Regions from separate parts of the Homo sapiens genome. Here regions 1, 3, 4, 5 and 6 are each linked to region 2. Evidence: promoter capture Hi-C in 16 types of primary human blood cells and fetal thymus (Javierre and others, 2016). All regions are on one chromosome and are shown on one strand. The core of a region is centred on a gene start or on the middle of the fragment in contact, and the rest is flanking DNA. Distances in the headings are between cores, read along the strand shown.

Region 1 (4,676 bases), core at 1,425-3,924, 230 kb before region 2:
ACTTATTTCCTTTACCTGTTTTATGCCAGTGTTGTTCTCAATCCTGGGGATGAGGCAGTAAACTAAACAGATAAAGCCCCTGCCCTCGTGGAGCTTACATTCCCGTGGGAGAGAAGACAATTACCAATTACCACGGAACACAATTTCAGGGAGTCATAAGTGCGGTGAAGAAATAGAACTCAAGCAAAGGAGGTAGCAAGGCTGAGGAGGGGAGCTATTTTATACGATGTGGTCAGAGGAGGAATCTCCAGTCAGATGACATTTTTCTTAGACCAGAAGAGCATAATTTAGTGAATGGTGGGCATAGTAATCAAAGTTCAGGATTAGCCTCAGGTCTACCTGAGACATGACTTCTATTCGTAAGTCCCTATTAAATGTTTCTTTCTGAGAGGGGGAAAAAAAAAAGGACCTTTCAGGATTAATGATCCTGTAAAACACAACCTTCTAAGAACATAAATAAATAAAAGAAATCCAGGCTAGTTATCAATTATGCAGTGGCATTTCCCAACTAAAGATTTATTTGGGCCTCAAATCAACCTTCCCTTAATCCAAAATCTGACTTGTCTCATTATAAACTGTGACTTAACATTTATTTCTGGTTCTAAAATCAGAATTTTGGAGAACTGAAGGATACAGTTGGTATTATAATATTTCAATTTCTGATAAGTTTCCATGAAAAACAATGGGACAAACTAAGAAAAGCCTGAAACAAATGGCTGGGATGTCTAAAATGTTTTAAATCTCTTTGTAATTTAATTGTTGATCAAACATGGTGCTGTGTGTCTTCAAGTGCCGAGCACTGACCTGGGCACCAAGGGTACAAGTTTTTTTGTTTTTTTTGTTTTGTTTTGTTTTGTTTTATTATTATACTTTAAGTTCTAGGGTACATGTGCACAACGTGCAGGTTTGTTACATATGTATACATGTGCCATGTTGGTGTGCTGCACCCATTAACTCGTCATTTAGCATTAGGTATATCTCCTAATGCTATCCCTCCCCCCTCCCCCCACCCCATAACAGGCCCCGGTGTGTGATGTCCCCCTTCCTGTGTCCAAGTGTTCTCATTGTTCAATTCCCACCTATGAGTGAGAACATGTGATATTTGGTTTTTTGTCCTTGCGATAGTTTGCTGAGAATGATGGTTTCCAGCTTCATCCGTGTCCCTACAAAGGACATGAACTCATCCTTTTTTATGGCTGCATAGTATTCCATGGTGTATATGTGCCACATTTTCTGAATCCAGTCTATCATTGATGGACATTTGGGTTGGTTCCAGGTCTTTGCTATTGTGAATAGTGCCGCAATAAACATACGTGTGCATGTGTCTTTATAGCAGCATGATTTATAATCTTTTGGGTATATACCCTGTAATGGGATGGCTGGGTCAAATGGTATTTCTAGTTCTAGATCCCTGAGGAATCGCCACACTGTCTTCCACAATGGTTGAACTAGTTTACAGTCCCACCAACAGTGTAAAAGTAAAAGTGTTCCTTTTTCTCCACATCCTCTCCAGCACCTGTTGTTTCCTGACTTTTTAATGATTGCCATTCCAACAGGTGTGAGATTGTATCTCACTGTGGTTTTGATTTGCATTTCTCTGATGGCCAGTGATGATGAGCATTTTTTCATGTGTCTGTTGGATGCATAAATGTCGTCTTTTGAGAAGTGTTTCTTCATACCCTTCACCCATTTGTTGATGGGGTTGTTTGTTTTTTTCTTGTAAATTTGTTTGAGTTCTTTGTAGATTCTGGATATTAGCCTTTTGTCAGATGAGTAGATTGCAAAAATTTTCTCCCATTCTGTGGGTTGCCTGTTCACTCTGATGGTAGTTTCTTTTGCTGTGCAGAAGCTCTTTAGTTTAATTAGATCCCATTTGTCAATTTTGTCTTTTGTTGCCATTGCTTTTGGTGTTTTAGACATGAAGTCCTTGCCCAGGCCAAGGGTACAAGTTTTTAACAGCCCTGTCCTTTAAGATCCCACTGCCAGGCTGGGTGCGGGACACACATCTGTAATCCCAGCAATTTGGGAGGCCAAGGCATGGTGCATCACTTGAGGTCAGGAGTTCAAGATTAGCCTGGCCAACATGGTGAAACCCCATCTCCACTAAAAATATAAAAATTAGCTGGGTGTGGTGGCGCACATCTGTAATCCCAGCTACTCTGGGGGCTGAGGCAGGAGAATTGCTTGAACCCTGGAGGCAGAGGTTGCAGTGAGCCGAGATCATAGCACTGCACTCTAGCCTGGGTGACAGAGTGAGATTCTGTCTCAAAAACAAAAACCACTGCAAAAAATCAAGATCCCACTGCCAAAAGGCCAAAAGGGATGGCTGTTGGAAAATTAATTACATCAAGATGGCTACAACAGAACATGGCCAAAGTATTTGAGAATAAAACATCAGAGGAAGTAGCATCTCGGAGAAAATCTGCTGTAACTTTTCCAATTGCTCTGTAAAGAAGATACTTCTCAATCTCTTTCTTAATCATCCATTATGCTGAATTTGGCTCTATTGAATATTTCTTCATTTTAGAAACTCTTTATGTCCTATTTACCCTGAAACCTCTCTCCCTTTTTCTCGAACCTTGCTGAATTCAGCCAGATTGGCAAACATGCCATATTCTTTTTATGATCTCAGTAGCTAGCAAGATACCTGACATATGGTAGGTACTCAACAAATATTTGCTGAACTAAACCAAACCAGGTCATGCCTTGACAAAGCTCCAAGAATTCTTACTCAGGTTCTTCCTCTGCCAGACCCTTGCCACATCTTCCCACACTACATTCATTCACTCAGTAAATATATGTGGAATGGCTATTAAGTGCCAAGATCTGTTCTGATAAGATAGAAATGTACAGAAAAGGCTTCTTTCCATACAAGAAACTAGGGAAGCAGAGTTAAAATAGCTACCTTGGTATTAAAAAAAAATTCTGGCTGAGCACAGTGGCTCATGCCTGTAATCCCAACACTTTGGGAGGCTGACATGGGTGGATCACTTGAGGCCAGGAGTTCAAAACCAGCCTGGCCAACATGGTGAAATCCCATCTCTACTAAAAATACAAAATTAGCCAGTGGCACACACCTGTAATCCCAGCTACTTGGGAGGCCGAGGCATGAGAATTGCTTGAACTGAGGAGGTGGGAGTTGCAGTGACCTGAGATGGCACTATTTGCACTCCAGCCTGGGTGAGAGAATGAGAGTCTGTCTCAAAAAATAAATAAATATAATAAACAATTTTAATATATATAGAGGCTACCATAAAGGAGCTACTCTACATACTCATTTTTTGAGATCAAATTTACTTGATAAACTTAATTTTATGATTACATAAAAGGGCAAAAAAAAATCTTTTCTGAGAGCCAAGGATACAGCAAAACAGGCAAAAATCCCTGCCTTGATAGAATTTACATTTCAAAGTAGGACACAGATAACTAAAATATAGAGCATGGGAGAAGGTGCTAAGAGATGTGGGGGAAAAAATAGGTTTATTAGGATTTGACCAGAGAAACAAGACCATTAAGAGGTATTCACAGTGGTGGGCTGGAGCTGGCTAGTACTGGCCTGAGAGAGCTATCAGCATCTTCTCTCTTCTCCCCATTCAGTGATGTCACATTGGTGGCTTGAAATTGGCCATGGTAAGAATATTTATACCAGGAAAATTGGCAAATGCTACAAATTAGGGTTTTTTTTTTCTTTTTCCAGAAAGCTGGTTGTTAAACATTTATCCGCATACCACAAACATAAACATGTGTAATGGCTTATTATAAGGACTTATTGTAGGGATTTGCCTACATGCAAATGTGGGGGCTGGTTAAACAGTCTATATGGAGGCTATTGCTTCTGTGTCAGGCACTAGTGCCTGAAATCAATAGGGCAGGTAGTCAAGAAAGGAAGATGGGCTGGGCGCGGTGGCTCACGCCTGTAATCCCAACACTTTGGGAGGCCAAGACGGGTGGATCACGAGGTCAGGAGATCGAGACCATCCCAGCTAACATGGTGAAACCCCGTCACTACTAAAAATACAAAAAACTAGCCAGGCATAGTGGCGGGTGCCTGTAATCCCAGCTACTCGGGAGGCTGAGGCAGGAGAATGGCGTGAACCCGGGAGGTGGAGCCTGCAGTGAGCCGAGATCGCGCCACTGCACTCCAGCCTGGGCGACAGAGCTAGACTCCATCTCCAAAAAAAAAAAGGAAGATGGTAATGAAGTAAGGGAAGCAAGATGGAACCTACACAGCTGAGCTGTAAACCAAGAGGATTGACTGGACTTCTTATGGCTCTCTCACCGTCTCTAAGCCTCCAATTTTGGTGATATGGAGGGTGGGAGGAGGCGTATTGAGGGAGAAGCTGGCCTCCTTCACCATGGAGCTAAACACATCTCTCACCTAACAGTCTGAAAAACTAAAGGAAGATCCAGCTAGAGCTAGAGGAGTGGTCAAGGGTCCAGCCACTGCCCTGTGCCAATCAGGCGAGCCAACAGGTAGCAACAATGCACTGAGCTGCACTAGTCTTCTAAGTGTAAAACAAGATGGTGGTTCCTTCAATTCTGCCTTCTAAGCATGTGAGACACATATCTGTGGCCCATGTGACTTCAGAGCTCTCCAGGGAAGAGAATCTGGGAATGATAACTCCAGCTCAGCTAAGTTAGCACAATATTCATCCACCATGGTTAAGAGAGGGAAT
Region 2 (4,404 bases), core at 24-2,523:
TTCGAAGAAAGGCATAGACCTGTTTCCTGGGCTCGTACTTAACTTCGGCAAATAAATCTCCTAAAGTGATGGACTCTCTTATAAATTAATCTGTAGCCAAGGCATGTCATCAATATGTCCTACTGTGCCTTCCTACCTCCCATTTATCAACTTACATGAGAAGCACACATCTTACTTGTCATAAATTATTACCTTAGTGAAAACCTGAGGGTGTCAAGAAGTCGAAAAATTTGAGACATTGACGTTGGGGAAGACACCTTTAATTAGAGCACCATAAAATCATGATAGAATGATACATTTTTCCTTGCCTTATATTTTTGGCATGCAAAACAGAAGGAGCTCAAACAATTGAGTGACACATTAGTAAAATTCCTTTCATTCATTTCTACTTACAAGGCACACACCATTGACCTCACCCCGTCCCCCCCTTTAAAACAATATTTGACCCGCGCCCCCCCCCCTTTAAAGCAATCTTTGAAAAGTTAGGAATGAAAGCCGGTTCAGGACAGTACACAGTACACAAATACTGGCTTCCCCTACCTCCACCACAAGCAAGTAAACATCCTAGCACAGTGTAAAAAGGAAGAGGCTGAGGACGAACCACGCGGACATTTGCAGGCACACCCCTTCCCTGCGACCAACAAAAATGCAGTAGCGCAATTACACTTGAAGGAATTGCAGCACTCACAAAAGCACACATTCTGTTCAATGGTTGAGTCCACATAAAGTGACAGTCCGTTTCTAAAAGCATGGCTGTATTTAAAGGACACATGGTCTGTTCAGGTCCGCTTCAGCGAAACCCCAAGCACTTCCGAGAGATCCACTCCCTCTCTCCGAGCAGGTGCCACTAGCTGCTCCGCCGGCGAGCGTAGGAAGCAGCGCGACCAACCAAATCGGTTGCCCACAACAGCCAGGGACGTCAAAAAGGCCAAACTGCGTGGGAAGCGAGCGTGCGCCTCCATCACCACGACAGCACCCGTCTCGAGGCTCCACCTGCCGCTAGTAGGTGGCTCTCAGCTCTGCTCTGCTAAGGGCGAGCTTGAGAACCCGGCCTACAGTTGTGCACCTCCCCCCGCCCCCGCCCCCGCCCCCGCCCCCGCCCACCGCACTTGTAGCCCCGCCCCGCCCAGGGAGCTTCCGTCACAACACTTCCGGCTCCAGCCTCCCAACCGGCCTCCGTCGTTTTTCACTTCCCTCTCCTCAGCTCTCTTCCCTTGCCCCTACCGTCTCCTTTAACACAGTCACGTGAGGGACGCGCGCGGGGGCAGCTGGGAGTAGTACTGCCGGTTGGTCAGGGTTCGGCCTCAACATGGCGGTTCCGGCCGGGCAGTGACCAAGGTTTTGCCGTCCGAAGGACTAAGTGGTGACTGTCGGCGTCTCCACCTATCGGGGTGGAATGCGAGCACGCGGGGACGAGCGCTGAGAAGCGGCGGTGACGGGAAGGGGGGGGTCAGTGGATTGTGCCCCAGAAACCGAAGCGGCGGCGTCTGTTCCTTCTTGTTTCTAGGCTCCAGTGCGTTCGGGGCCCCGCCCGGCCGGGCCAGGCCGGCGGGCGGCGGCGGTAGCTGCTGCAGCCGCAGGATAACCTCGCAGGGTGGGCCGGAGGGCGGGCGCCGCCGCTGCCTGTGCTGCGGCGATGGCCCAGTGTGTACAATCAGTGCAGGAGCTAATCCCGGACTCCTTCGTCCCCTGTGTCGCTGCGCTGTGCAGCGACGAAGCCGAGCGGCTCACTCGTCTCAATCACCTCAGCTTCGCGGAGCTGCTTAAGCCCTTCTCCCGCCTCACTTCCGAGGGTATGTGGTATCCTCCCTTTTCCAGTGGGCTCCCGCAAAGCCGTGGTCGGGAGAAGGAAGTTGCGGGCGGGCAGGGAAGAGAAGGGCAGTGTTTACGTCCTGGAGCCGGTACCGTGGCGTCTGGGGCTGTGGCCCCGCGGTGCTCCGGGGGCGGCTGGAGGAGGGACCGTGAGGTTGTCAAGACAGCGCAGTCCTAAGCTCCAGTTTCTCTGGGCACTTCCTTTCTTCCTCGGACAACCTAGGTCGTTAAGTAATTGGTGCAAAGATAAACGTGAGTCTTCGAGAACGGCATTGAGACTGTTCTCCACGGCCATAGCGAAGGAATTAGGCACTTGCAAAGCAGCTAAGGTAGGAAAATGCTGCCTCTTAGACCGACAGGGTCTGAGTAAGGAAGACCTGTCATCCTCCCTTGGATGTTAAACTGGACTTTGAAAGTAGTTGTGGATGTTATTACATTCTTGTAGCGTTGAGGGTCATCTCTGTCTGAACTACCGTGTAGCTGTTTTACTAATATATTCTTAGCTATACGGTATTTTGCTTAACCTCTCAAGAAAATTAAAAGTATTATAAGAAGAATAAAACTTGAAGCAGCTTTTTGCCCTAAGGAAGAGGAAGCAAGCCCAAGTTGTGGTTAATTTAACCTGGATATTTGGAGTTATCTATAGTTATAGGGATGGAAATGTCTTCTCTTGTTAATGAATGTCTTGTTAAGAAGCTACCCGTTTTCTCCAGTTTTGGATTTTTTTATTAGGAGAAAATAATGTGGTAAAGCTTCAAGCATGTTTTAGCCAATATCTTGCAAACAACAAAGTCCAAGTAAAGTTTTTTTTGTTAAGGTCGGTAAGAACTGAAGGGTTTCATAATAAGCCTGTGTCAGGCAAACGACTGTGATGTTTGTTAGCTTAATATGACTTATCCACAAAAAAAATCAGTGCTGTACCATTTTTGCGCTACCATGTTTTTTGGGAGAATAGTTCCATTATAAATTAGCTTTTGTTTTTAGCGGAGAGAGGGAGCTGTCCAAAAAAACAAAGTTTGGAAACTTTTGGATTTTCTTTAGCCTGTATCGTAGCCATCAGTCTCAGTTCCTTCAGTGTTGGACTTAAGAGCAACAAAATGCCCTACGTTTTTTATTTTTTTGTTATTTATTTATTTATTTATTTTGAGATGGAGTTTCGCTCTTGTTGCCCAGACTGGAGTGCAGTGGCGCGATCTCAGCCCACCGCCACCTCCGCCTCCCAGGTTCAAGCGATTCTCCTGCCTCAGCCTTCTGAGTAACTGAGATTACAGGCATGCGCCACCATACTCGGATAATTTTTGTATTTTTAGTAGAGACAGGGTTTCTCCATGTTGGTCAGGTTGGTCTCGAACTCCCGACCTCAGGTGATCTGCCCGCCTCGGCCTCGCAAAGTGCGGGGATTATGGGCGTGAGCCACCGCGCCCGGCCTTGAATTCCTAAAAAAACACAAACACTTGAGCTAGTTTTACTTTTATATGTGTACTCTTTCCTTCTTTCTTAATAAATAATAATAATGCTAATACCTGATACTTGCTTTGTGTAACTTTTCTTTTTTAGTCCTCATTGAATCCTGTTATTGCAATTTTAAATTTGAGGACCTTGAAGCATAGAAGTGTTAATTTGTTCACAGTTTTGCGTCTGGGAAAGATTTGAAACAGGCAGTGTGACTCAAGACATTGTGTTCTTAATCATCTTATCTCCTGACAGTATTTAGAATTATGTATTTACACCATAGAGCAGTGCTGTCTAATTGAAATATAATGTGAGTCACAGGTATAATTAAAAAATTTTCGGCCGGGCGCGGTGGCTCACGCTTGTAATCCCAGCTCTTTGGGAGGCCGAGGCGGGTGGATCACGAGGTCAGGAGTTCGAGACCATCCTGGCCAACATGGTGAAACCCCGTTTCTACTAAAAATACAAAAATTAGCTGGGCGTGGTGGTGGGCGCCTGTAGTCCCAGCTACTCGAGAAGCTGAGGCAGGAGAATCACTTGAACCCGGGAGGCACAGTGAGACTCCATCTCAAAACCAACCAAACAAACAACAACAACAAAAAATTTTAGTAGCCACATTAAAAAAGTAAAAAGAAACAAGTGAAATTAGTTTTTTTGTTTTTTGTTTTTTGGAGATGGAGTCTTGCCCTGTTGCCCAGGCTGGGAGTGCAGTGGCGCGATCTTGGCTCACTACAACCTCTGCCTCCCAGGTTCAAGCGATTTTCCAGCCTCAGCCTCCCGAGTAGCTGGGATTACAGGCGCTCACGGCTTATTTTTGTATTTTTAGTAGAGACAGGGTTTCACCATGTTGGCCAGGCTGGTCTCGAACTCCTGACCTCGTGGTCCGCCCGCCTCCGCCTCCCAAAGTGCTGGGATTACAGGCGTGAGCCACCGTGCCCGGCCGAAATTAGTTTTAATACTGTATTTTATTTAACTCAGTATTTCCAAAATGTTACTATTTCAATGTGTAATCAATGTGAAAAATATTCATGAGATATTTTACATTCTTTTTTATTGCTTAGTCTTTGAAATTTGGTGTGCCTTTTATACTTAACATCTCAATTTGTACTAGTCACATTTCAAGTACTCAGTAGCCATATG
Region 3 (4,243 bases), core at 1,526-4,025, 180 kb after region 2:
AGGATGAAGCAATGAGGTGGCCATCTGCAAGCAAAGGAGTGAGGCCCTGGGAGAAACCCACCCTGCCAACACGGTTGTCTTGGACTTCCAGCCTCCAGAATTGTGAGGAAATCAGTCTCTTTTGTTTAAGCCACCCAGTCTATGGTACTTTGTTATGACAGCCTGAACAAATTAATACAAGACTCTGAACACTTTCTAAATTCGTATCTGGAGGTGAGAGAGTACATGTTGCAGATTGTCAAATAGAGACGTGGCTCAGTCAAGATGGGATAGGGGCAGTGAGGACCTCTCGATTTTGGGCAGGAAGCTGGCAATTTTGTTGTGCAGTAATAGCAAGGCAGTGGTGAAACTATTCTATTTTCTCTTGGTGCTCTGACCATGAGCCTACTGAAGTTGAAAGTTAAAGAGAGATGGTAGAAAAATGTCAGGCTGATGGAATAAGATGAATTTATTTTGTAGCCTTCGGTTAGGTCCTACCAGAAAAACAAGTTTTGTTAGAAATGGGCAATCTGAAAGCAGCAAGGGAAGAAAAGACAGCTTTGCTACAGGAGGCCCTTTCTTCCTACAGCCATCAACTTAGAAACTTAGATGTCCCTGGCTGGGCGTGGTGCCTCAAACCTGTAATCCCAGCACTTTGGGAGGCTGAGGCTGGGGGATTACCTGAGGCCAGGTCAGTGTGGCCAGCATGGTGAAACCCCATCTCTACTAAAAACACAGAAATTAGCCAAGTGTCTTGGCATGTGCCTGTAGTCCCAGCTACTTGGGAGGCTGAGGCAGGAGAATCGCTTGAACCTGGGAGGTGGAGGTTGCAGTGAGCCAAGATGGTGCCACTGCATTCTAGCCTGAGCAACAGAATGAAACTCTGTCTCAAAAAAATTAAATAAATAAAATAATAGAAAGTTAGATTAGACGTCTCTGAGCTTCGCTGAATTGAAAAGTGGGGTTCTCTGTCATCAACTAATATTACTTCTCACAAAGCCTAGGGTGTGGAAAACATATCAGAAGATAAGATAGGAGTCAGAGAGAAGCTTCATTCCTGTTCTTTTAGGCTTCTCCCAAACATCTTGCAGACATTTAGCAGCCTGAGAAGGGTGACAATGGTCTCCATTGTAAAGAGTCACCCATCAGACATAACCAAGGGGCAAGGGCCAAGTTATCTGTGCTTTGAGGGTGCTGGTTCTGCCCTGGGGCAGCCAGCATGGACAACACTAGGTTGAGGACTAGGTGGGATAGCAGAGCATTAGGGCCTGTGCTGAGACAAAAATCCCGCAATAAAGGGTCTGGAATCTAGGACTGTGACCAAACATATTTGACTTGGGCCATCGGTCAGTAGAGTTGCCTAATTTTTTTTTTTTCTCTTTTTTGAGATGGAGTTTCGCTCTTGTTGCCCAGGCTGGAGTGCAATGGTGTGATCTCAGCTCACTGCAACGTCCGCCTCCTGGGTTCAAGTGAATCTCTTGCTTCAGCCTCCCAAGTTGCTGGGATTACAGGTGTGCACCACCATACCCGTCTAATTTTGTATTTTCAGTAGAGACAGGGTTTCACCATGTTGGCCAGGCTGGTCTTGAACTCCTGACCTCAGGTGATCCCCCACCCCAGCCACCTAAAGTGCTGGGATTACAGGTGTGAGCCACCGCGCCTGCCTGAGTTGCCTGATTTCAAACTGTATAGTTACATTGCCCAAGAAACTGCAAGCTTGGACCAAAAAAAGGTGGCAATGGCTCAACTTCCAAAGCAATTTTCCAGCTCCTCTCATCTGCACCAATGGCAGTGGGCTGTGTGGCTTCAGAGGGGAACACCTCCTAATACCTTTCTAGGTCCCAGTGGTTTGGGTGGTGGGCGGGATGGGAGGTTTACCTCCTTCTGCCCCATTTACCTGACAAGTGCAGGATGAGGCAAGTGACTCAGGTTTGATTAGTATCATTTTCCATCCCCCTGATCCCAGTGATTGGTTCAGACCAACTAACTGCAATGAGACTCAATCCTAGGGTTGTTTTGCAGGAACTGTTGGGAAAGTGAAGCACTTCATCCTTCAGTTGCTAAATTAGCAGAATAAGCTTCAGGTAGGATGTTACTCTGTAGAAAGAGCTGACTGAAAATGAAGTTAAAACTGAGGAATGTATAGCTGGGCAATATATACGTGGAGAGGGATGTTAAGTACTTGTGATGGTGGTTGAACCTCTAGGATCCAGCAATGCCTAAAGTGATTGCTACTTCTGGATTTCTCAACTTTTTCATTACACGAACTAATACATTTCTCCCCCCACTTCACTTTTTATTGTTATTTTCTCACTGAAACTGCCTTTCTTTCCTCTCTTGCAAAGGAATTCACTTGCCTCATCTGGCACTTGGGTGCTGAGGACAGAAGGAGGTAAGTACCCCCCAAAATCAGCAGGATCCAGAAGGGTATTCGGAAATGTTCTCCTCTGTGGCCACATGGCCCACTCCTACTGGTGCAAATGAGAGAAGCTGGAAAATTGCCTTAAATGTTGCCCAGATGCCACCTTTTTAAATCCTTTCCTGATTTCTTACCTCCTTCTCATCTTCCTTCTTCCTTCTCCTTTCCTTACCCCCTAGATTTGCTTGCTTCAGTTGGAATGGTATTTTTGGCTCTTATAACCAAGACCCATGAGTAATACAGAACTCATCAACACTCTTTACACTCTTAAGCAGTTGGAGACCTAACCAGATGCCTGGACACTGGGGACACAAACTGGAATAAAGTTCAATGAGAAGTGGACTGTGTCTTCAAGAAGCCCTCAGCATTGTGAATCGTGGACATTGTACAGTGTGACACGTGCCACACTCACAGTGTGTATAGGGTGTGTTGTGGAGAAGGGGTCCTCATTTGGACTAAGGAGTTAGCGAAGGCTTCCAGAAGCTGAGTAGGAACTAGAAGTAAGGACATTTCAGGCAGAGGCAATAACCGAATAAAGACAAAGGAGTGTCAGATGGCACATTATTCTTCATTCTGGAGACCCCGAGTAGTTTGATATGGCGGGGACGGAAGGTGCCTTTAGAAATGTGAAGGCAGATGGCGCCAAGGGTAGGAAAACGTCAGACCATGGGGGACCTTTGTCCTTCAGGTGTAAAATCATTTAAAGATTTAAGTGAGGGAAAACGTGCTCACGTTTGTTACTAAGATGACTGCTTTGGCTGCAGTGTGGAGGATGGATTGAAAAAAAGCAATTGTTATCTTACCATAGGATCATGAGAATCTCTCTTCAATAAATGCGAGAAAGGGCAGTCTGTTTTTCATGATATACTGATTGCCAGCATCTTGACAGAAGGGCTATGGCAAAACCGAGAAAACACTATCAATATTAGGCAAAAAAGCAAAACAAAACAAAAGAAAGGAAAACAAAGATCTCTCTAGCCCCAACAGTGCTAATTTTTGCATACCCAGCAATTACATTTCTAATGAAAGTCATTGCTGCCAAAATCAATCAGTATAAATGTTGGAGACTCCCTTCTCTTTCCGTGAAAAGCTTTTACTATTTCGTTTCACTAAAGCTTAAAGAGAACTTCGGGTTTATGGTTCATTCTAGAGCGATCCACCATAGGCGTGCTTTAAGATGATGGTCAGGGAAACTGTCATTTAATCTCAAGGAAGCTGTCATTTGATTCTATTCAAAAACTAGGCAGTACACATCAGCAGGCAATGTAGTCTGATGCTGTGACCTACTTTGTTGGCTGAAGCCTTCCACTGTTCCTGGAAGGGAAGTTATTTTTGTTTCCTTTCATCTCTCATTCACATACATGGAATATACACATTGGTTACTCTAGAAAACACATGGGTAGTCCTAGAGCAAAATGGGTTTCAAGGTTATTTAATTTATGCCTCTTAAAACCTCAGACACTTTCCTCCCAGTAAAATTTCATGTGGTATACAGAACTTTTTTTAAAAAAAAAATTCATCTTCTCCTTACTTCTCCTTACCACCTACTTTTTTCTTTCTTTTCTTTTTTCTTTTTTTGGGTAGAGACAGGGGTCTTGCTATGTTGCCCAGGCTGGTCTCAAATTCCTAGCCTCAAGCGATCCTCCCGTTTTGGCCTCCCAAGGTGCTGGGATTACAGGTGTGAACCACTGCACCTGGCCTACTTTTTTCCCTTTCAAGAAAATACAGTACTCCAAGGCCTGAGTGACTATGAAATTTCAACTTTTGTGCCTTTGTACTCTTAGATACCATGTTTGTTTTGTTCTTCTGCAAGATTACACTAAAATCCACTTTTCTTGTATGTAT
Region 4 (4,438 bases), core at 879-3,378, 190 kb before region 2:
TAAGGAGGTACAATGGTTGTCTCAAGGAAATATATTTGTGCAAATTATATTGAGTTATGACCTCAACCAACTTTTTTTTTTTCATGGCATGGCCACTTTTACTTAAAAGAGTGACTGGCAAAATATTTATATGTGGGTATTTGGAGGGAGAAAATCAGCATGTCACTTCAAGGTAACAACCATTTTTTGTCAAAGATAAAATTTGAGGTTTTAAGCAAAAATCGGAGTTTTGTAAGCTTCCTGGCTTCCCAATTTTTAAAGACTTGATGAGATCCATGGTGATATTAATATAATTGCTACAGTACAAAAAGTGAGTAAATATTTGATAGATCTCCATAACTCAGTGCACCATCTTTTGGACTGACCATCACATAATGCTATGCAATCATGTGCAGGTAAAAGGTCCATTCAAATACAGGATAGATCTATGGATTTTCCTGTTAAGTGTACAAAAAGTTTGATGTGGTTCGGATTACAACTAACTTTTAAGAATTTACTATTTGTTCGGGAGGCTGAGGCAGGAGAATTGCTTGAACCTGGGAGGTGGAGGTTGAGGCGGAGGTTGCAATGAGCTGAGATTGTGCCATTGCACTCCAGCCTGGGCAACAAGAGCGAAACTACATCTCAAAAAAAAAAAAAAAAAAGTTACTATTTGTTGTTTTTGTTTTGATGCAGTATGTAAGAATACCCAGCCAACTTTTTTTTTTTTTTTTTTTTGAAACTGAGTTTTGCTCTGTCACCCAGGCTGGAGTGTAGTGGCACAATCATGGCTCACTGCAATCTCAACCTCAACCTCCCTGGGCTCAAGAGAACCTGCCACTTCAGCTGCTGTGGGTAGCGGGGACTACAGGCACATGCCACCACACTCATTTAATTTTTGTATTTTTTTTTTGTAGAGACAGGGTTTTATCACATTGCCCAGACTGGTCTCAAAGTCCTGAGCTCAAGCCATCCGCTCGCCTCGGCCTCCCAAAGTGCTGAGATTACAGGTATGAGCCACCTTACTGGAACTCAGTTATCTTTTTTAAAAGGCTATTAAAATATTCCTCCCTTTTCCAACAACATTATCTGTATGAGACTAGATTATCTTCATATCCTTTAAGCAAAATAACCCACAATAGGTTGAATGCTGATGCATATATGAACAATATGAACAATCTAGCTGTCTTCCATTAACCTAGATATTTGAGAGATCTGCTGAATATTTTTGCAAGTTATTTTCCATTACAAATGTTAATGATAATGTAATGAGCTTATTATTTTAAATGTTAATGTTTTCACTTTGTCAATTCCCCCTTTTTTTTTTTTTTTTTCAAGAGACAGGGTCTCATTGTGTTGCCCAGGCTGCTCTTGAACCCCTGGCCTCAAGGGATACTCTTACCTTGCCTCCTAAAGTGCCGAGATTACAGCCATTAGCCACTGGGCCTGGTCCACTTTATCAGTTTCCTATGTGACAAACATGTGATAAATACAGTCATGCATTGCTTGATGACAGGAATATGTTCTGAGAAACGTACCATTAGGTGATTTCCTCATTGTGTGAACATCACAGAGTATATTTACACAAACCTAGATGATATAAGCCTACTACATACCTGGGTTATATGGTGTGGCCTATTGCTCCTAGGCTACAGAACTGTATGGCATGTTACTATACTGAATACTGTAAGGAACTATAACACAGTTTATCTAAACATATCTAAACATAGAAAACATATCTAAACATAGAGAAGGTACAGTGAAAATACAGTATTATAATCTTAAGGGACCACCATTGCATATGTGGCCCATCAACGACCAAAATGTCGTTATGTGGCGCATGACTATATTCACAAAAACAAAACTGCTTTTGGGTTCTCAATAATTTCTAAGGGTAAAGGGCTCCTGAGGCAAGAAGTTTGAAAAGTGTGAGTCTAAGTAAACCTAAAATTACTTCATAAACACAGAAAATGCTGTTGTGATATATCAATTCTATCTGGAAACAGAAACAGTTGGTATAGAGTAGTATTCTCAACCATTACTCATAAAATTTTCAAAAAGCTCAGAAAAACTATTTTACACCCTTTGATACTACCAAATAACCTAGATAATCATATGTAAGCTAGTCAAGTGATTTGCTAATGTTGCAAAATAATTTTTTTCCTAGAGACAATAGTTTCATTCTAATTATTAAAGAACCAAACATGTTTAAAAATGGGTGGGTTAAGTAAATTTCTCATCATACATCCTAGGTATACATTCGACTGAGAAGTATGATCATCAGCTGATTGTTCTTTATTATTTTTTCTTTTTTTTTTTTTTTTTTTTTTTTTTTTTTTTTTGAGGAGTCTTGCTCTTGTTGCCCAGGCTGGAGTACAACGGCGCAATTATTTTAAGATATGTTTTATTCAGAATTCCTCATGTGTGGGGTATTTGTACTTCTTGGAAACAAAAACAGTGTCTCAGATCTTCCCACAAAAGTTGAGGCTAGCAAGCCAGGTATGACGCACACCTGCAGTCTCAGCTACTCATGAGGCTGAAGATCCCTTGAGACAAGGAGTTTAGGTTCAAGGGATCGAGGCCTTGAGGCCAAAGCAGGAGGATCACTTGAACTCAGGAGTTTGAGACCCACCTGGGCAACATGGCGAAATCCTCTCTCTACAAAAAATACAAACAGTTGAGGCCAGCAAATAAAGACTAGTAACCCTTTAGACTCTATATCCTTAAGGGGGAAAAAAAATCCAGACTGTCTTGACAGGATTTTAGACTAAAGTAGGACCTGACAGATATAAATACAATAGGTTGACTTGTATTGGATACACAGTAACAATAAACGTTAACATGCTCTGTTCCAAGCTCTTTGTAATATTAACTAATTCAATCCTCACAAACCATAGAGGTAAAAAGGGCTACGAAATGTGTCCAAACTACACAAGTAGCAACCAGCAGAATCATCAAAAACAGGTTGTCTGGTCCAAGAAAGTAGGCTCAGTTGTTTTAAATGCTTGGTCTTCTGGCAAAGATCTACCCAACACCCTTCTGTATCTGCTGCAACCGCTTTTGTTTCTATTGGTGGCTTCAGATCCTATCCCAGAAAATATTGTCCTTAAATACTCATTAAAATCTCCTATTTCCCATGATTTGAGGGAGCCTAACAAAAAAATAAAATAGAAAAATAAAATTCTGTACCTACAAAAATGCCTTGAAAAGAAAACATCCAGGCCGAGGTAGGGCACGGTGGCTCACGCCTGTAATCTCAGTACTTTGGGAGTCTGAGGTGGGCGGATCACCTGAGGTCAGGAGTTTGAGACCAGCCTGGCCAAGATGGCGAAACCCTGTCTCTACTAAAATATAAAAATTAGCTGGGTGTGGTGGCGCATGCCTGTAATCCCAGCTACTCGGGAGGCTGAGGCAGGAGAATCGCTTGAACCTGGGAGGGGTTGAAGTGAGCCGAAGTCAGGCCGCCGCACTCCAGCCTGGGTGACAGGGCGAGACTCCATCCCCCCAAAAGATAAAAGAGCATCCAGGCCCTGCGCGGTGGCGCACACCTGTAATCCCAGCACTGTGGAAGGCTGAGGTGGGCGGATCACTTAGGGCCAGGAGTTTGAGACCAGCCTGGACAACGTGGTGAAACCCATCTCTACTAAAAGTATAAAAATTAGCTGAGCATGGAGGCGCACGCCTGTAATCCTAGCTACTCAGGAGGCCGAGGCAGGAGAATCGTTTGAACCTGGGAGATGGAGGTTGCAGTAAGCAGAGATTGCACCACTGCACTCTAGCCTGGGTAAGAGTGAGACACTGTCCCAAAAAAAAAGATAGAACATCCCATACACAGCTCATGGAAAGTCAGGTAAGAGCAGCGGAAGGCCATTTGGCTAGACTCTTCACTTCCTTCCTCAGTTATGAGGGGAAGACCAGCCTGTTTTGTTTTTACCTACATTTGGCATCCCCAGGTACCAGCATACATAAAAGAATCACTTGTAATACATTTAACACAACTTTTACAAATACTAAAATATAACTTTAGAAGACTAAGCTTTTCTGTTCTGGACAAAGGACAAGTCACTGCTGCTGTAAATGCAAGAAAAAAACAGAAAAATCTCAATGTTATAAAAGCCAAATATAAAATAATATTTACTGTGTGCTTCCACTTAACACAAACCCATTTATGGTATTAGAAGTTATGTCGTGATAATACTTAGTTGTGACTGGAAGTAGAAACAAAAAGACTTAGGAGATTCTAGCAATTTTTTTTTCTTGACTTGAGCATGGATTACTTCAGGTTATTGTTCACTTTGTGCACTTTCAGTATCATGTGCCATTATTGCCCACTTAGACTAATACGAAATCTCCCTCACATCCTATTTTCTTCCTCTCCATATCCTCCACCAAACGGCTGTGACTCATCTGCTTACCAGTCTTCCATATTTATTCCCCTGCCTTGCTTGTCCTTAAATTC
Region 5 (4,432 bases), core at 1,522-4,021, 170 kb before region 2:
GGTCCTAGCTACATGGGAGGCTGAGGCAGAAGGACTGCTTGAGCCCAGGAGGTCAAGGCTACAGTGAGCCATGTTCACGCCATTGCACTCCAGGCTGGATGACAGAGCAAGACCCTGTCTAAAAACAAAACAGAACAAACAAAATAAATTTAAAAATTTAAAAAAAAAAAAAAAAGCTTTTCCTTCCTTTGCCAATTTTCTTACTGACTAAAAATCCACATACAAACTCAATTCTTCCATTGCAATCAGAACTCCGCAAAGGATATAGAAATAAATAAGACTAAAAAGCTCATTCTAGGTGAAGAGACAGGCTGAAATAAATAAATACAATAAAGTTTAGAGATCTAATAGCATAAAGAACAGTTCTACCAAGAAGAAGAAATTCTAGAGCTCAGGAAGGATTTTACTGAGTAGCTAACACTTGGTCTAAGTCTTCAAGGAGAAGAAAAAAGTCAATCAGCTGGCAAAATGCAGGTTGGGATATTACTGGTAAAAGTGTGGAGGTGAGGGAGTGATAATGAGGATGATGAGGAAGAACTAACATTTTCCAAGCAAAGTACTAGTCAAGTTTCTTTACCTGTATTAACTTATTTATTAACTTCAACTCAATGAGGACCTATCATCATCATCGCCTCTCATACCTTTCCTTAAACACATGAGACAACTGAGGCAGTTTCTTGACAATGTAATACAATTAGTAAGTGACATCTGAAATTTGAACCCAGCATTCCGGCTCCAAGCCCACATTTTTAACCACAGTCATACTGTTTTTCAAGAATGGCAAAGAGAGGGAACAAATAAATCAACATGGCTAAGGCATGTGATGCAACGATGGATAACCAAGAAAGAGGCTATAAAAAGAGAGGAAAGGGCCAGATCAGAAAGGGCTTTGGAATAAGGAAGTGTGTGTGTGCGTGCGTGCGTGTGTGTGCGTGTGTGTGTGTTTTAGACGGAGTCTGACTCTGTCGCCCAGGCTAGAGTGCAGTGATGTGCTCTCGGCTCACTGCAACCTCCGTTTCCTAGGGTCAAGTGATTCTCCTGCCTAAGCCTCCCAAGTAGCTGGGACTATAGGCACGCGCCACCACGTCCAGCTAATTTTTGTATTTTTAGTAGAGACAAGGTTTCACCATGATGGCCAGGCTGGTCTTGAACTCCTGACCTCAAGTGATCTGCCCACCTTGGCCTCCCAAAATGCTGGGATTACAGGTGTGAGCCACCGCGCCCAGCCAGAATTTTGTCTTTTATACTTCATTAATATTACTTTGGCGATAGAATGTAAAACAGATTAGAGGATAACTACCAGCTAAAAAGGCTATTATCATAGTTCGAGTGAGAGATGATGAGGGCCTGAGCTAGGGAAGTGACAAGATAAAATAAAAGTACAGATGAGGAATATTGCTATTAGGAATCAAGTGTCTATGACCAAGTGGATCTAAGAAATAAGGGGGAGGAAGGCCTGTCTCCTGATAAGAAAATTTGGTCATTAAAAGCGTGATTACAATCATGTATACTAAGAACTTTACTAAAAGCTGGAGATATGCTCAACAAGACAAACACCATCCCCTCACTTAAGAACAATCTATTGGGTAAAAAAGCAGATAGGAAATTACAATAAAGTAGAAGTACAACAATAAGAAAAACATAGAAATGAAGAAACCCAGAAGGACTAAAAAAAAACTATAAGAGCAACAACTTTCAAACAAATTTCCTTGACACTAACAAGTCAAGTAAAATGAGAACCTGAAGTTTTTTCAGACTAGGCAATCAGAAAATTACTGCAGATCTTTACCAGACAATCACTAAAGGTTTTTACCAGAAATTTCAACTGAGTAGGGAAGACGCCTAATGTAGTATGATCAACATGAAGTGCTTAAGGGCGGTTAAGTTACTAAAAATTAGCAATATGTAAAATGAAAGGCTACTAAAATAAAATATTAGAGACTGCTTAACATACTGTCTCCTGGGAACCTTTCTATAATAGTGGCAATATTGTCTTTCCTTACAGTTACGTATGTGCTTACTACTGAAGTTTTCAAAATTAACAATGCATTGTTTAGGGATACATGCATGGGTGATGATACATAAAGAAAATCAAAGGAATGAATAATCCAAATAAGAGAATAGTGGTTGCATCTAGGAGTGTACGGTTCAAATGGGCAGGAGCTCACATAGAGATCCTGAAGTTTTGAAAAATGTTCTTTCTTGACCTGGGTTAATAGGTAACTGGATGTTAATCATTATTTTTTTAAACCACAAGTGCATTTTGGCCATTTTTCTGTGTAAAATACATTTCATAAAAATGTTTAATGTACATGAATCTGAGATAAGATACAAATCAATCCAAATCTAGTTGTTTAAAAGAAATGAGACTCAAACAGAACTGCACTGCACCTGGTTTCATTTTTACATGACATTTTAGAATAAAAATTTCAAACTCTAAGTCTATCCCTTAGATAGCAAAGAAAAAACAGGTTGTAGTTTGCAAATACATTACTGAAAAGGATTTTCTATAGTTTTTCAAATCATTTCAGTTGCAAAATCAGTAAGAGAAAAATCTCCAACTTATTTTTTACTCAAAAAAATGAAAATTCTTAGAATGATTTTAAATAACATAAGCTGAAGTTCATGAAGTCATCTCCCAGATGAGAGCTTACGTGTGCCAAACAGATTTTAAGGCAAATGCTGTAGTTCTGATACTTGGCAATTCACTTTAAAAACACATGTGCACATACACACACACACATCCCCCCAAATACCTTATCATATAGTTCCCAAAACAATTTCCATTTCAATTATGAAAATTCTGTATTTAGGAATAAGTATTGCTTACCTGTTCCCTACTGAATCTTGAGAGATCTGAAAGTTTGGAATGATAGAAGAAACACCATATTCATCCTGATACTTCTTACAAGATTTGTAATGATGTCTCATGCGATAGAATTTAATCTGTAAATTATTAAAATGTGACTTTTAATTTAAAATAGAACTCGTAAGATTTGAAATAGTGTAAAGAGAGGAAAAAATAAAAGTAACTAAATACTCCATTTAAACAGGAGTTGTATTTTTTTAAAGTAAATGATTTCATCCTTAAGTAGGAGTTAAGAATAGATAATACATTTCTGTTCATTAAATGTAGAGATGGAGAAGAGTCCATCTGTCTATAAATTCACTGCAAAAAACAGCAAATAACTTCACACTTGAAAAGACACTACCAGCAGTAGACAAAAAAATTAAAAGCACTAAGAGGATGCCAGATGCTATTGGGCATGTCTTATTATTTAACTTCTGCAGCCTGGCAGAGTTAGAAAGCACTTAAAAAAAAATTAAGTTCCTGGCTGGGTGCAGTGGCTCGCGCTTGTAATCCCAGCCTTTTGGGAGGCTGGGATGGGTGGACTGCTTGAGTTCAGGGGTTCAAGACCAGCCTGAGCAATATGGCAAAATCCTGTTTATACAAAAAATACAAAAATTAGCCAGGTGTAATCTCAGCTACCTGTGGGGCTGAGGCAGGAGGATTGCTTAGAGCCTGGGAAGTCAAAGCTGCAGTGAGCCGAGATTGTGCCACTGTACTCCAGCCTGGGTGACAAAGTGAGACCCTGTCTCAAAAAAAATTAAGTTGCCAGGAATACTTGGAACATTTTTCAGTTTCTCACTGAGAGGAATAGCCAGAATCTCTCGAGTGTGTTTTCCAGCTTCACGTCATTGCCCTGTCAGTTAAACACTTCCTTCAAAAAGATGTAAAAGCAGATCTGACTTGTGTGAATGCATGAAATAGCAACCAGCTTTGCTCACTGAATTCATTAGCTATTAGAAAAAATGTCGGTGATAAATCTATAGACACATGGATATACTCAAAGCCTAACCACCCCTCTCTATTTTATTCCTTCTCCAAATGATAGAATAAAATCCAGATTAGAGAATTAATGCTGGTTATTTGTTAACACCTGATTTTCCTACATGTTCCTTAAAATTAACCAAATATTTTGTGATTTCTTTCTTCTTCTTTTTTTTTAGACAGCGTTTCGCTCTTGTTGCCCAGTTTGGAGTGCAATGGCGCAATCTCAGCTCACCGCAACCTCTGCCGCCCAGGTTCAAACAATTCTGCCTCAGCCTCCCAAGTAGCTGGGATTATAGGCATGCGCCACCACACCTGGCTGATTTTTTATTTTTAGTAGAGACGGGGTTTCACCATGTTGGTCAGGCTGGTCTCGAACTCCTGACCTCAGGTCATCCACCCACCTTGGCCTCCCATAAGTGCTGGGATTACAGGCATGAGCCACCATGCCCGGCCCTTGTGATTTCTTAAATACATACATAAATACATAAGTAAAGTGAGGAGCTAGAGAGTTCCTTAAACTACATAAATCCATGTGCCCAAACTAGTAACATTTCTATGTGTAAAGCTGCAATAATGATGCTACCATGAGAAAAACTT
Region 6 (4,473 bases), core at 1,857-4,356, 150 kb after region 2:
TTTCTCTGGGTCTTTGAGTCTTCATTTCCGAAGGCTCCCATGTCATGTAAAACTTTAAGTAAATTTGTTGTGCTTTTCTCTTGTTAACTGTCTTTTGTTATAGGAGTGTTGACACGACCCTTAATGATGAGTGAGGAACGGGATAACTGCCTTTCTAACCCCACATTCTCAACCATTCACTGAAAAAAACTTTCTGTAGTTTAGTCATTTTTCTCAGCAGTCTGGACTTGCATAGCATGATGGATTTTAACAGTTTGATTTTCAAAATTTAACCTAATTTCCCCATCGCAGGGAACCCTGACAACATTCATTTGCTGGCAAAATGAAAACAAAAATTACACCATTTTAGAGACAACGCTCTGCTATCCCTTGATCAGAGCTTGCTACCCTTCTGATTGTCCCACTAAGCTTTCTAATTGACCTTTTTTTTTTAGTGAAATAAACTTGAATTATATTTTGTCACACATCAAACCCTATTCTGACCCTTGAAGATGTTGTCTTCTTATTGTATTTACTGGAATTTAACTGTATGAATAAGTAATCCACTGATTTATGTGAGAAAATCTTTGATATTTGGATAATTTTCCAGTAATGACATCAACTAAGTTTTTATATTCTATTGTCTAAAATAAAATACTTAAAGACTTTAGCTTTCTCCAAATATTTTATAGACCAAATAGAGCTAAATGTATTCATTTGTTCTAGCAAATAAAATGCTATGAGAATAAAAATTGATATATTAGACTTCATTTAGGTTGTTGTGAGAATTATTTAACATATATTTTATTATTTTACATGTATAAATTAAAATATGTAAGGTATTTAATATAGGCTCTGGCACATATAGGCTCTTAATATATGATAGATACTTTTAGTTATTATTAAATGACTCCTAGAGCTAAGTGTCTAAGGTCATACAGGTTGTCAGTAGCCAACCAAGTTTAGAATTCAGATCTGCTGATTCCAGTCCTCGTGCTTCCCACCTCACCATGATGATTTTCTGTTGGCTCCTGGGGCAAGCCCCCGCTTCACCTGCTGAGAAAATGAAGTCATAGAATAGGAGCTCAGCCTAAGCGGGGCCTGAGAGTGCCTGGCCCACACTGCCCCTGGGACAGGCGGATAAGACCACAATTAGTTCAGAATTTGAATTTTATTATGGTGGGTACCAGGACCCTCTCTCCCAAAAGTCTGGGACCACTCTCAGGTTTCAGAAATAGAAACAAAATTCTAGGCCCACTCACCAACTGAATGGATCCCCCACTTGCCCAAGGGGACCCCAGAGAAAGCTTGGAAGCTGAGTTCCTAGCCATGATGAGATGAGAGATTGAACATCCCTCATTATACCTCCTTCCTTGCTGACGTCATTAGGGCTTTCTTCCCTGATGGCTAAACAGAAACTAGCCTTTTTGGTTTTTAATTTTTAAAAAATGTTTAAATTTTTATGTATTTATTTAAAGTTTTTAAAAAATACAAGACAGGGTCTTGCCATGTTGCCCAGGCTAGTCTCAAACTCCTAGGCCCGAGCCATCCTTCTTGCTCAGCCTCTCCAAGTGCTCAAATTACAGGTGTGAGCCACCTTGACTGGCCAGAAACCAGCCTTTCTGAAAGACACCACTGCAGATATCAGCCAACAGCCAGATGCTGCCCTTCCCTTTTGCAGTGTTGACACCACAACCAATCAGGCTTCCTTCCTAATGATAGACCACCTACCACAGATTGGTTCTGGCCAGTCCACAGAGGATGCATAGTGAGGGTTTTTGTGTCCTCTACTTTACTTTTTGATGTTAGAGGGCCAAGATCGGATCGTGCCAATGCCGACATTTTTTGGGACCCATGAAGGGGCATGAAGCTCAGCTGCACATGCACGTTTCTCCTCTCATAAATATTCATGACTCCTCCTACAGCTTTTTAAATGTGGGGGGTATTCATATCAGAATTACCTGAAGAACTAAGATATATTTATCTATGGCTAATTGTCCACCCTGCTTGCATAAATTCCTGTTCCCCTTCCCCCTCCCTCAAAGTGTCTGTTTCTGGCTTCTGACTGAAGGCTGTGCTTCCCAGCCTGTCAGAATTGCCACCATACAGGCTGCAAGTCTTGCTGAGAAATTAAGCTCTCCTTTCCAAATTTATGAACCTCCTTATTCTTCAGTTACAGGTTACACAGAGGAGTTTGAGAACTGCCTGACTCATAGAATCACAGATTCTATCCACAGGAAGATTCCTCTAGCTCAATGGGAAGGAACAAAGCTTTGTTCAAAGCTCATCCCTGTGACATAAGAGGACATAGAAATCAGGATTTTTTTTTTATGACTTTGTGTTCTCTCTGGGCATTACCTTCTTTCTGATAGCACATCACATATATCTCACCAGGTGAATCATATGAATTCTGGTTCATACAACCTCATGTTCCAAAAATTTTAAGTGGCTTGGGACTTGGCCGGTAGTGAGGATTTTGAATGGATTAGAAAGTAGTAAAACCTAACAGATGGACGAGGCGTGGTGGCTCACGCCTGTAATCCCAGCATTTTGGGAGGCTGAGGTGGGTGGATCACAAGGACAGGAGATGGAGACCATCCTGGCCAACATGGTGAAATCCCATCTCTACTAAAATACAAAAAATTAGCCAGGCGTGGTGGCACGCACCTGTACTCCTGGCTACTTGGGAGACCGAGGCAGGAGAAATGCTTGAATCCGGGAGCTGGAGGTTGCAGTGAGCCAAGATCATGCCACTGCACTCTAGCCTGGGCAACAGAGTGAGACTCCATCTCAAAAACAAACAAACAAAAAAAACCCCCAAAAATAAAAAATAAAAATTAGCTGGATGTGGTGGTGGGCACCTGTAGTCCCAGCTACCCGGGAGGCTGAGGCAGGAGAATCTCTTGAACCCAGGAGGCGGAGGCTGCAGTGAGCCGAGATCACGCCATTGCACTCCAGCCTGGGAAACAAGTGAAAAGCTGGTCTCAAACAACAAAAACAAAAACAAAAAAACCCCAGATGTAGCAGAAGTGTTCTAAAGCAATTAGCTGAGATATCACAAGCTACAGAAGGAAGGTCATTATGCAAATGCAGGGCCATTAAATGCCAGTCTTTTTAGCCTAATGTCAGAACCTGCCTTATACCCAAAGGATAGGGGGATAGTTGCATGTTTTCTTTCAGCACAATCCACCTCATGCTGTCTGATCTGTCCCCATTAAACCAGGCTAACGGGTTTTTCTTAACAACAAAGACCAGCAGATGGTTTCTGATGTCAATGATGTTCATCTCGTATTCTGGTTTGGTTTGCTTTCACTACCTCCCTTCTCTGCTTTGAAGGTTATTTTTTCCTCAGTTTCAGGGTCAAGGAGACTCATAAAAATATGCAAGGCAAATAATGTTTTTAAAATGTAGCCCATTTTCACCTTTTTTATGTCTCATTGGCTGTAATGTGTGTTTGTAGAGACAAAGTGTATCCATTTTGCTTCACCAGCTAACAATACAAAGAATGATAAATGGCTGTTATTCCTCCTCCTCCTCCTCCTCTTCCTCCTCTTCCTCCTCCTCCTCTTCCTCCTCCTCCACTTCCTCCTCCTCTCTTCCTCCTCTTCCTCCTCCTCTCTTCCTCCTCCTCCTCTTCCTCCTCCTCCTTCTCACAGTCTTCTCTTCTGAGAACCTGGCCCCAGTAGTGTTACCTTGCCTGAGGACTCCTTGCTGAAGGAGGAAAGGAGTAGGTACTGTAATTCTTTGTCTAGTTATTACCCAAATGAAAAATTCCAAGATAAATAGTGCTTGCATCTCAAAGGGTGAAAGGATAGAACAATGGCCTTGTGCTGTTTCTATATACTCTCTGTAACAACCCAGGCATAGGATGGCACCAAATCAGGAGGAATATAAAGGGAAGGTGTTCAAGGCAAGTAGGAAAGTGCAATGGCATGAGGAGGCTTGACAAGAAAGGGCAGACAAAGCTGCGGAGACAAGCTTCTGGTTTGGATCAGCAATCCTAGAGGGGAAATGTCTTTGAATTGGAAGCTGAAGATCTGGGTGCTAGATCAGTTCTATAGTTCTACTAGTACTAAAATCTTGCCTCAGTTTCCCTCAGCAATATAACACCACTATCTTTCCTCAGCATATAAGAGACATATGAAGCCCTTTGTAAACTGTAAAGCAGAATCTAAATAAATATGAAGTCTCAAGAGCCATACACTAGAGATAGCCCAGGTGGGAGCTACCTGTGGAATTAGGAAGCAGCTGTCCTCTGCTCTCTTTTTGCTTTTCCAACCTGCATTCCTTCTTTTCCATAAACCACAGCTTCCCAGAAAAGTACTCTCTGGTGACTGAGTTTCTCAGATTCAGTGTTTCTTCTTCCCAGGCTCTGGGTTTCTTCTTCCTGGGCTCTGATGAATGGCTTCTCATTATCCAATACCCATCTATTACCGTCACATAGACAACATCCTCTGCTCACCTATTCTGTCTCCGATGTGTCCATAGCAGTGA

What was found. The method cuts DNA at HindIII sites, captures the fragments that hold promoters and counts their contacts. A CHiCAGO score of 5 or more calls a contact.
Region 1: a contact is called between a fragment that was not itself captured here and the fragment with the promoter of TRAPPC8 in region 2, in 1 of 17 cell types (neutrophils). The highest score is 6.5, in neutrophils.
Region 3: a contact is called between a fragment that was not itself captured here and the fragment with the promoter of TRAPPC8 in region 2, in 1 of 17 cell types (total CD4 T cells). The highest score is 5.6, in total CD4 T cells.
Region 4: a contact is called between a fragment that was not itself captured here and the fragment with the promoter of TRAPPC8 in region 2, in 13 of 17 cell types (neutrophils, naive CD8 T cells, non-activated CD4 T cells and 10 more). The highest score is 18.8, in neutrophils.
Region 5: a contact is called between a fragment that was not itself captured here and the fragment with the promoter of TRAPPC8 in region 2, in 16 of 17 cell types (neutrophils, total CD8 T cells, naive CD8 T cells and 13 more). The highest score is 24.1, in neutrophils.
Region 6: a contact is called between a fragment that was not itself captured here and the fragment with the promoter of TRAPPC8 in region 2, in 1 of 17 cell types (non-activated CD4 T cells). The highest score is 5.1, in non-activated CD4 T cells.

The regions. Positions count from the first base shown.
Region 1 is chr18:32,166,225-32,170,900 of GRCh38, reverse strand. No RefSeq gene overlaps it. Among named protein-coding and RNA genes, the nearest start is that of MEP1B, 21 kb to the left of the region's middle. The HindIII fragment of the contact is 6,002 bases long and covers 1-4,676 here.
Region 2 is chr18:31,939,997-31,944,400 of GRCh38, reverse strand. It overlaps TRAPPC8 (trafficking protein particle complex subunit 8), which reads left to right and starts at 1,273. Exons shown (of 29, transcript NM_014939.5): 1 at 1,273-1,793. The coding sequence starts at 1,637. RefSeq lists enhancers at 1,289-1,498, 1,600-2,378 and a silencer at 1,549-1,668. The HindIII fragment of the contact is 12,839 bases long and covers 1-2,566 here.
Region 3 is chr18:31,761,188-31,765,430 of GRCh38, reverse strand. No RefSeq gene overlaps it. Among named protein-coding and RNA genes, the nearest start is that of SLC25A52, 2.4 kb to the right of the region's middle. The HindIII fragment of the contact is 1,431 bases long and covers 2,060-3,490 here.
Region 4 is chr18:32,132,919-32,137,356 of GRCh38, reverse strand. No RefSeq gene overlaps it. Among named protein-coding and RNA genes, the nearest start is that of RNF138, 43 kb to the right of the region's middle. RefSeq lists silencers at 1-135, 2,345-2,545, 4,135-4,335. The HindIII fragment of the contact is 3,779 bases long and covers 239-4,017 here.
Region 5 is chr18:32,112,259-32,116,690 of GRCh38, reverse strand. It overlaps RNF138 (ring finger protein 138), which reads right to left. Exons shown (of 8, transcript NM_016271.5): 4 at 2,831-2,946. Among named protein-coding and RNA genes, the nearest start is that of RNF138, 23 kb to the right of the region's middle. The HindIII fragment of the contact is 5,185 bases long and covers 179-4,432 here.
Region 6 is chr18:31,792,816-31,797,288 of GRCh38, reverse strand. No RefSeq gene overlaps it. Among named protein-coding and RNA genes, the nearest start is that of SLC25A52, 34 kb to the right of the region's middle. The HindIII fragment of the contact is 1,707 bases long and covers 2,253-3,959 here.